Regions from separate parts of the Homo sapiens genome. Here region 1 is linked to region 2. The links are contacts of gene promoters, found by promoter capture Hi-C in human tissues and cell types (Jung and others, 2019). All regions are on one chromosome and are shown on one strand. The core of a region is centred on a gene start or on the middle of the fragment in contact, and the rest is flanking DNA. Distances in the headings are between cores, read along the strand shown. Region 1 overlaps LOC105369309 (a long non-coding RNA gene). Region 2 holds the start of LRRC55 (leucine rich repeat containing 55).

Evidence for each region. Contacts are between HindIII fragments. The study calls those that stand out against the background at their distance.
Region 1: a fragment that was not itself captured here is called in contact with the fragment with the promoter of LRRC55 in region 2 in 4 of the 25 tissues and cell types used here (H1 embryonic stem cells, aorta, pancreas and 1 more).

Annotation. Positions count from the first base shown.
Region 1 is chr11:57,134,385-57,138,893 of GRCh38, reverse strand. The region is part of intron 6 of LOC105369309 (a long non-coding RNA gene); the gene reads left to right. Among named protein-coding and RNA genes, the nearest start is that of LRRC55, 45 kb to the left of the region's middle. The HindIII fragment of the contact is 4,484 bases long and covers 936-4,509 here.
Region 2 is chr11:57,180,528-57,184,961 of GRCh38, reverse strand. LRRC55 (leucine rich repeat containing 55) reads right to left here and starts at 3,009. Exons shown (of 2, transcript NM_001005210.4): 1 at 2,279-3,009. The coding sequence starts at 2,939. The region is part of intron 4 of LOC105369309 (a long non-coding RNA gene); the gene reads left to right. RefSeq lists a silencer at 2,313-2,607. The HindIII fragment of the contact is 8,931 bases long and covers 1-4,434 here.

The DNA.
Region 1 (4,509 bases), core at 1,928-4,427, 46 kb after region 2:
CAAGTCTTGGTAAAACACCTTGCTATTCCTCATGTAATGAGGGGGATAAGCAGTCTTATGGGGAGCTGCCATGAAGAAGCTTATCCGCATCTCCTTAGTTTGCAGGAGAAAGATGTAAGGCTGGTTTTATCCACCCCCTTGTTTCAGAGGAGGACATGACTTTCCACCTTGACCCACTTAGAGTAGAGCTGCTGACTTCTGTGTATGTCTATTAATTTGCTGGCTGTATTTAGAAGGAGCCCCTCAATAGCACAGCCACCCACTGCCTGAGCATCCTGTTATCTGGCCCCTCTCACTTGGTGGTGTCTTGTGGAGCTAGGACATAGGAAGCTAACATTATGCTGACTGATTTTTCATCAGTATAAGTAATAAACTGTCTGAATCCATTTGAGCTTATTGTCTTTTTACTGGCCTAATCTATGAAATTGTGGTAAACTGCAGTAGCGATTCCTATATCCCTGTTAGCCACTATGCTGCTGCTTTGGGACTGTTTTGACAGTATGTTGGGATGCTTGATGATATCCCTATTGGGTTAAGTAGTGCCCGCAGAAGTTCATGTCTACCCAGAACCTCAGAATGTGACCTTATTTGGAGATACGGTCTTTGCAAATGTAAGTCAAGTGCAGATGAGGTTATAATGGATTAGGTTGGGCCCTATTCCAATGACTGCTCTCCTTATAAGAAGAAAGAAATTTGGACACAGAGGCATGCACAGAGGGAAGATGATGTAAAGACACATAGGGAGAAGAACATGTGATTGCAGTGATGAGTCTACAAGCCAAGGAATGTCAAGATTGCCAGCAACCATCAGAAGCTAGAAGAAGCAAGAAAGGATTCTCCCCTAGAGTCTTTAGAGAGTATAGGCCTACTAACACCTTGATTTTGGATTTCTAGCCTCTAGAGCTGTGAGATAATAAATGTCTGTTATTTTAAGCCATCCAGTTTGTGGTACTTTGTTAGAGCAGCCCTAGGAAATGAGTACAGTGTTACACATGAACATGAACATGTGTGACACATGAGACATGAACAGGTCTCTTGAGGCTCTTTTTATCTTTATTCAGTATTTGTTTCTTTCTCTCTATTGTATTGGATCGTTTCCATTAATCTGTCTTCAAGTTCACTGATTCTTTCTTCCGTCATCTAAAGTCTGTTGGTTGCTCACCACAACAATACTAAAAACATTAACTTTTTCATTTTAGAAAGTTACTGAACTTTTCAACTCTAAAATTTTATTTGGTTCTTTTGCATGACTTCCATCTCCTTATTAAGATTCTTTATTTGTTGAGTCATTGATTCATATTTTTGTTGATTTTTTAAACATTGTTTCCTTTAGTTCTCTGAACATAATTATTGGTTTTAAAGACTTTGTCTGCTAAATCCAACATCTGGGCCCACTCAGAGACCATTCCTATTGACTAAATTTTTTTTACTGAGTGTGGATCATGTTTTCCTATATCTTTGCATGTCTCATAGCTTTTTGTTGTTCCAAACTGGATAATGTAGGTAATATATTGTAGCAGTTCTGGACTGCGATGCCTCCTGGGAATGGTTATTGTTGCTGCTTGTTTGTTTAGTAGCTTACCTGGACTAAATCTGTGGATACTGTCTTCCTTGTGATGTGTTGCTACTGATGTCTTTCCTCAGTTTGTAAAAAAACTATTTTATTTTAAGCCTGAATTCCTAGGGGTTGCTTCTATTTTCTTCATAGTTTAGGAGTCAGCTGATGTTTGGTCACAGGTTGTGATCAAACACCTTGTATTAGTTTTTCTATTGCTGACATGTACCACAAGCTTAGTGTCTAAACAAAATAAACTTACTATTTTAGTCCTCTTTGGGAATCATTGGGCTAAAATCATGGCATTGGCAAGGCTGTATTCCTCCTCCTCCTCCTTGTTCTCCTCCTCCTCCTCCTTCTCCTCCTCCTCCTCCTTCTCCTCCTCCTCCTTCCTTTTCCTCCTCCTCCTTCCTATTCCTCCTCCTCCTTCCTCTTCCTCCTCCTCCTTCTTCTTCTTCTTTTCTTCTCCTTTTCCTTCTTCTTCTCCTTCTCCTTCTCTTCCCTCTCCCTCCCCCTCCCCCTCCCCCTCCCCCTCCTCCTCCTCCTCCTCCTCCTCCTTCTCCTTCTCCTTCTTCTTCTTCTTCTTGTCGTGCTCCGTTGCCTAGGCTGGAGTACAGTGGCACGATCTTGGTTCACTGCAACTTCCGCCTCCCAGGTTCAAGAGATTCTCATGCCTCAGCCTCCCAAGTAGCTGGGATTACAGGCACCCTCCACTATATCGGCTAATTTTTGTGTTTCTAGTGGAGATGGAGTTTCACCATGTTGGCCAGGCTAGTCTCCAACTCCTGACCTCAAGCGACCCACCCACCTCAGCCTCCCAAAGTGCTGAGATTACAGGTGTGTCACTGTGCCCAGCTAAGGCTGCATTCCATTCTGAAGGCTCTGGGGAAGAATCAGTTTCCTTGCCTTTTCCAATTTCTAGACGGCATTAACCTTGCTTGTCTATGGCTTATGTTCTCCATCTTCAAAGCCTGCTTTTAAAGAGTCCTGTGACTAGATTGGGCCCACCAGGATAATCCAAGATAAACTATCTCAGGGTCCTTAACCTTCATCCCGTCTGCAAAGTCCCATATGCCCTTAACATAGTCACAAGTTATAGGATCAGACCTGAACATCTTTGTGGGGGGGCGGGGAAGAGAGGACTTTATTCTGCCTACCACACACCTCAAGCTAGTGAGGCTTCCATACACTTCTATCAGATCTGTGTGGGTTATCAAAGTTCAGGAAGTTTTCAGGTCAGCCCTGGCCGTTACTCTCAGGTAGGCCATCTTTCATCTTCTCTGCATGTGCTCTGCATCCTCGTGCACCAGGGATCTGTGAAGCCCCTTTAGGACTATCTGGTTTCCTGAATCTCCTTGTTAACTTTCTGGTTAGTCTTCCACCAGGACTGCAATCTCAGGTTAGTAGAGTTGTTGGCTTTCCCAGTTTACTGGTCACGAAGATTGCTAGCATTACTGACAGGGATGATGGATATGGATTTTTTTTTCCCTCCCATTCCAAACCAAGTGAGTCCTCTCTGCAGCAAGTTGCTGGTTTTCACAGCCAGTCCCATTGGGCTAGAACTACCCTGCCGACCAAGCTGGATGGGGATGGGGAGGATGAAAGCAGCTTCAGTCTGAAGCTTGAATACCACAAACTCCTGCAGTTCTTATCCCAAATTTAGCAGTTTTTCATGAATACAAACTTTATTTGCTGTATGGCTCTGTTTGATTTTCAGAGCTCTGAATCATTGTTTTTGACAGTTTTGATTTTAGTATATATAGTTGCTTTTTGGGGAGAAGATTTGCTGACCTCTTCATTTTGCCAAACCAGAAGTCTCTCCTGCCTAATTGGAGGCTTTAGTCCCAATATTATTACATTTAGAATAATTAATAATATTGTCAGTTTCTCAATATACTTTACTGGTATTTGACTGCTTTCTGTATCATGTGTTTATTTGTCCCTCTTTCCCTCCTTTCCTGCCTTCTTTGGGATAATCAAATATTTTGTAGCTGTCCATTTTAATTTCTCTATTGACTTTTTAACTATTTTTTTTGTATTTTTTTAGTGCTGCTCCAGGCAATATACATATTCTTAATTTATCAAGTCTACCTTTAACTAATATTGCATCACTTCCTGTGAAATGCAAGAATCTTACAACAGAAAGACAGCACTTATCTAAACCCATCTTCTATGCTATTACTGACATACAAGTATACCTTCTTTCATTGCGCTTCGCTTTATTATGCCTCTCAGATATTGTGTTTTCATTACAAATAGAAGGATTGTGGTAACCCTGCATCAAGCGAGTCTATTGGTGGCATTTTCTCAACAGCATGTGTTTACTGTGTGTCTCTGTCAAATTTTGGTAATTCAATATTTCAAACTTTTTCGTTATTGTTTATCTGTTACGGTGATCTGTGATCAGTGATCATTGATGTTATTACTGTAATTGTTTTGGAGCACCACAAACCATGCCCGTATACAACACTAATCCATACAAGTCGTGAGTGTTTTGATTACACCACTGACTGGCCATTCAACATCTCTCTTCCTCTCCTTGGACCTCCCTAGTCCCTGAGACACAACAAAGTTGAAATGAGGCCAATTAGTAACCCTGCAAGGGCCTCTAAGTGTTCAAGTGAAAGGAAGAGTTGTACGTCTCTTACTCTATATCAAAGGTAGAAATGATTAAGCTTAGTGAGCAAGGCTCACTAATGTCTTTCATGAATGTCCAAAGCTTTCACTAATGTCAAAAGCTGAGATATGCTGAAAGCTAGGCCTGTCATACCAAACAGTTGGCCAAGTTGTGAATGCAAAAAAAAAAAAAAAAAAAAAGTCCTTGAAGGAAGTTAAAAGTGCTATTCCAGTGACCACACGAATCATAAGGAAGCAAAACAGCCTTATTACTGATGTGGAGGAAGTTTTTGTGGTCTGGATAGAAGATCAAACTAGCCACACAATACTACCTCAAG
Region 2 (4,434 bases), core at 1,760-4,259:
TTGACTCGCGTGAGCTCTCCTCTGGAAACCTGAAGATGCTGAACTCTAAAGTCTATTAGGTAGATGAAGTGGGTACTGGTGAGACAGTGAGATGGGGAATGTGGCAACCCTCATATGGACCAGCCAGAGGAGCCCCTGACAGCCCTTGGTGGGACCACACAGGATGCAGGGTGGGAACGTGGAGGCTGACAAAACCCCCTGGTAAGTCAAGGCACCAGTCCTAAAGTCATGCTGTATCCCAGGGGCTTGCTTATTATGGCCCTCTTTGTTCAATTTTTCCAAAAACCATGGATAACAGTGGAGTTCCGCAAAGAAAAAGGGAGGAAGCAGCTGAAAAGGACCTAAAGGGAAGAGCATCACCTAGTTCTGCCTCCACTGGCAAGGTTTTGTCCCTAAGGAGAAGCACCCTGGTGCGTGTGGCCTGGTGTTAAGTGTGTTCTGTGGAGGAACAGGGAACCTGGCTTTCCAGCTGGGACTGCTTGCTTCCTCATCATGGGCCTGTGGACAGTCACTGTCCCCTTCTGGAGCTCAGGTTCCTCACCTGTACTGATGTATGTGTGAGCCTACACTGATGAAATCTTGGACCCCTCTCCTGCTCGCTGGGAGTCTGAGCTTCTTCAGAGCAGCAGGGACCTCAGAGATCACAGAAAAGGAGTCCCTGGGTGTAATGTAAGCTTAGTGCTTTGGGTGCCCTTTCTGTTATTAGTGCACAGGAGAGAGAGGGAAGGCGCGCCTGCCAAGTTTGAGCAAGTTGAGAGATTGCTCCAGGCATCCTCCCACTCCTGCCCTCCACCATCGCCCCATCCCAGTCCCCAGCTATTTTGATGCAAGAGAATTTCCTCCTACAGCTCTGTGGAAACACTGGAATCGTGACCCACAGCCCTCCCCAAACTATTTTGGTCTTGGGCTCCCCACTCAGTCCTCCTCTCCCTTTTACCACATTCAGCATTGCTTCTTCTCAACATGGGCTGAGCTCAGGTTCTGGGAAAGCCCCTTGGATAGGGCCTTCAGCTACTACTTCTGGGTTCTTGTGCCAAGTCTTGGTGTTGTCACACAGGAGAGCTGGTGGCTAGGGCCACAGCTGAACATTGCCTGCCTCTGGGTCAGGCTCAGATGCCACTGGGTTGGGATGCCCATCAAACCTATGTGATTTGGGCTTCTTCAGGCCCCAGTCCACCCTCCAGTTGGGATTGGCTGGTTGAGTTGCCGCATCTCAGTCTTCCTTTCAGCTCCCTACCCTGTGCCCAAAGTTTACACTGCTCAGGGCCTTGAGTTTGAGGAAAGCCAGGTTCTCGTAGCTGAGATCCAGGTCTTGGAGCTGCATGAGGTCCTGGAACTCTACTGCAGCCCTTTGGCCAGTCCAGGACTCAGGTTCTGACTCTTCCGGCAGGCCAGAACCTGACTCTTCAGGATATAGTCAGGGAGATTGCCAGGACTCAAATCCTGGCTTCAACACTTAGCAGCTGTGTAACTTCCAACAAGCTACTGAACCTCTCTGTGCCTCAGCTTCCTCCTCTGTAGAGTGGCAATCTCATTAGTGTTCTTCTGGGGATAGGAAGAGATAGGTAAAGCTGCTTAAGAGAGGGCCTGGTAAATAGCAAGTACTAAGGTCTCAAGTTCCTCCTGGAACATATTGGCTGTCACGCAACTTAAGCTATTGCAGCTCTGTTGAGATTGTGTTAGTCATTACTATTTATACGAGAGTTTCCAACACTTGGAATGCTAAAAAAGCATTCTGGTAGATTAGAACAGGGCTTAGAAGTCAGATAAATCTAGGTTTTATTCATGGTCCTGCCACTTTTTAATTTTTTAATTTGTATTTTTTTCATGGCCCTGCCACTTTCTAAGTGTGTGATTCCTGTCAAGCCTTTTTATTGTTCTAAATCTCAGTTTCTTCACCTGGAAAATGGGTATAATAAAAATGGGGGTCTCATGAGATAATGGATGCCAAGATCTTAGGTCATGGTGAAAGCTCAATAAAAACCACCAACCATAGGCTATTCTCACTTGTCTACTATCCGTCTGCCTCATTAGGTCATGAGCAGCGCAGTGGTGAGGGACATCTATTTAATGAATGAATGGGCCCTCGGTGCCTCACATGCACTGGAAGGATTCTACAAACAACCTGTTGGCCGAGCTGGTGTACAAAGAGGCAAGCCCACATTAGAAAATGCAGTAGGTGCTTTCTGGCTCTAAGTTCCCCCGCTTTCTTTGGAGCCTTTGCTTCCCATTGAGGCAAGCCCTCCCTGTTGACTGCCCCGTTCTGCCCCTCTATTACCTGCTGTACAGCGCTGGATCCGGTTTCGCAGCCACTTCAGCAGGGGTTCCATGGTGCAGCCACACACCCAGGGATTGCCACCGATCTGCAGGGTCACCAGCCCCGGTAGGCCCTCAAGAGCCTCCAGGCTGAGGAAGGCCAGGCCCCCATAACTGAGGTCCAGGTCTCGGAGCTGCATGAGGCCCTGAAAGGCCTGGGGATGCACCCTCCGCAGCCAGGGGTTGTGGCTCAGGTCGATGTGGACTAGCCCATGGGCCTCCTGGAACATGTCGGCTGGCACATGGCTGAAATTGTTGTAGCTCAGGTCCAAGTGTGCCAAGCGCTTGGCATGGAGGAAGAGGCCCCGGGGCAGCTCCATTAAGGAGTTGTTGTGCAAATCCAGCACCTGGAGCTCCATGTAGCATGTGAGGTAGCCAGGCGGCACTGCTGTGATGCGGTTGTGGGCCAGGCTGAGGTTTCGGGTGTCCATTGGCAGGTCTGGGGGCACGGAGAATAGCCGCTGGCTGCTACAATCCACCACCTGGTTACGGCATGTGCAAAGGACGGGGCAGCTGGTGCCGGCATCCGAGTGCATCAACCCGGCTGCCAAGAGGAGGGAGATCAGCAGCATTGCTGGGTGGGGTGGCCCGGGCCAGGGAAGCTGGGCCCAAGTGTCACCCATCTTAGGCAGCAGGCAACAGCAGTGCTGGAGGGAGCCCATGAGGACTGTGTCCATGGAATCGAGAGTCTGTGACACAGGAAGGCAGCTACATCTGGGGCCAGCGTCTGTGAAGGTGGGGCTTCTGAGCATGTGGTATCATGGCTAGGGACTTTCCCAGGAGCCTCTGAGCACCAGAGGGCTTCCTGAGATCCACGGGAGGTCCCCTTCCGGAGCCTAGGGGGCAAGACACCCAGTTGAGGTCCCCTAGGGTCTGGAATGATGATCAAAACCTGAGAAAGGGAGGGGACAAGAATGGGGCTAGGTCAGCTGCCAGCAAGTCCTGGAAGAGTTCCTGCAGATCTTTTGTGTCTCTCTCACCCATGCCTGCTGGATGTTTCCTCTTGGTGCTGTGTCTGGGAGGGAGGGGCTGAAGGAGATGAAACGTGCCCTTTAAAGATCCTTGGCACTTCTTCTGAGAAAACTTAAGTCCTGTCCCACGTCTGGGACTGATTAGGAAGCCGGGGCTGCACCTGGGTCTTCAGTGTTGAAGGTCTCAGAGGCCATTTGTCCTGGTGGCCTGGTGGGCTGGAGTCCAAGGGGGTCCCAGGGTGGGTGTTTTGGGAAAAGGGCCCGGGAGGAAGTGAGTCTCCATGGGCCTCCTAAAAGCCTGAGAGTCCTCAGCCTCAGTGGCTGCTGGAATCCCCAGGAAGCCTCTTTTTTTCCCAAAGAGAGGAGGACCCCAGGTGATGCCCACTGTCTGGGCCTCTGGGGCCAGAAGAAGTCATGAGTCCTGAAGGTGCAGGCTGAGTGTCAGCTGGCAGAGCTCTGGCATCTTCTCCAAGCCAGTGCCTTCCTCAGCGCAGTTCTGTGTTCAGCAGGTGGAGGCCAAATTCCCTCTGTCAACAAGGAAAGCACTCAGGCAGAGAAATCCTGTGCCCTTGACACTCCCTTGTCCCTTCACCTAGGACGCTTGGCTTATCTTTGTCTCTTTCCTTTGCTCCCCCAACCACAAAGTTCTCTGCTTACTGTCTGTCAGGTGTGGGCCATGGTAGGTTCAGACCCCAGGCTCACATTGCTGTTACCCACGAGCCCTCCCTGACCCAACCTGCAGCCATCCTCCTCTGGGTTCCTGTCTTGGGTTAGATGCATTTTCTTCTTCTTCTCATAACCCCACCCTCATTAGTACCAAACACGCCACCCTTGAACAACTCCCTAAGAAAAATCTGCATCCACACTCTGGGGGTTTGCACACCCCTTTCAAACACTCTAAGCACTCCTCTCTCTCTCACACGCACACACACACACTCACTCACACACCATTCTGTGACTCCCCCGTATTTTGCCCTGCCCCGTGCTCACGCCTCGCGGTTTTCGCTCCAGCTTCCTTCTGCACAGGCGATTCTGCAGACCCCTCCCCAGTCGACCCCCAGCATCTTTCGCCCCCCTCTCAGCGCACACCCTTCATCCCAGCATCCCTTTCCACACACTGCACTCTCCTCGCCGCCCCCAGCAGAGG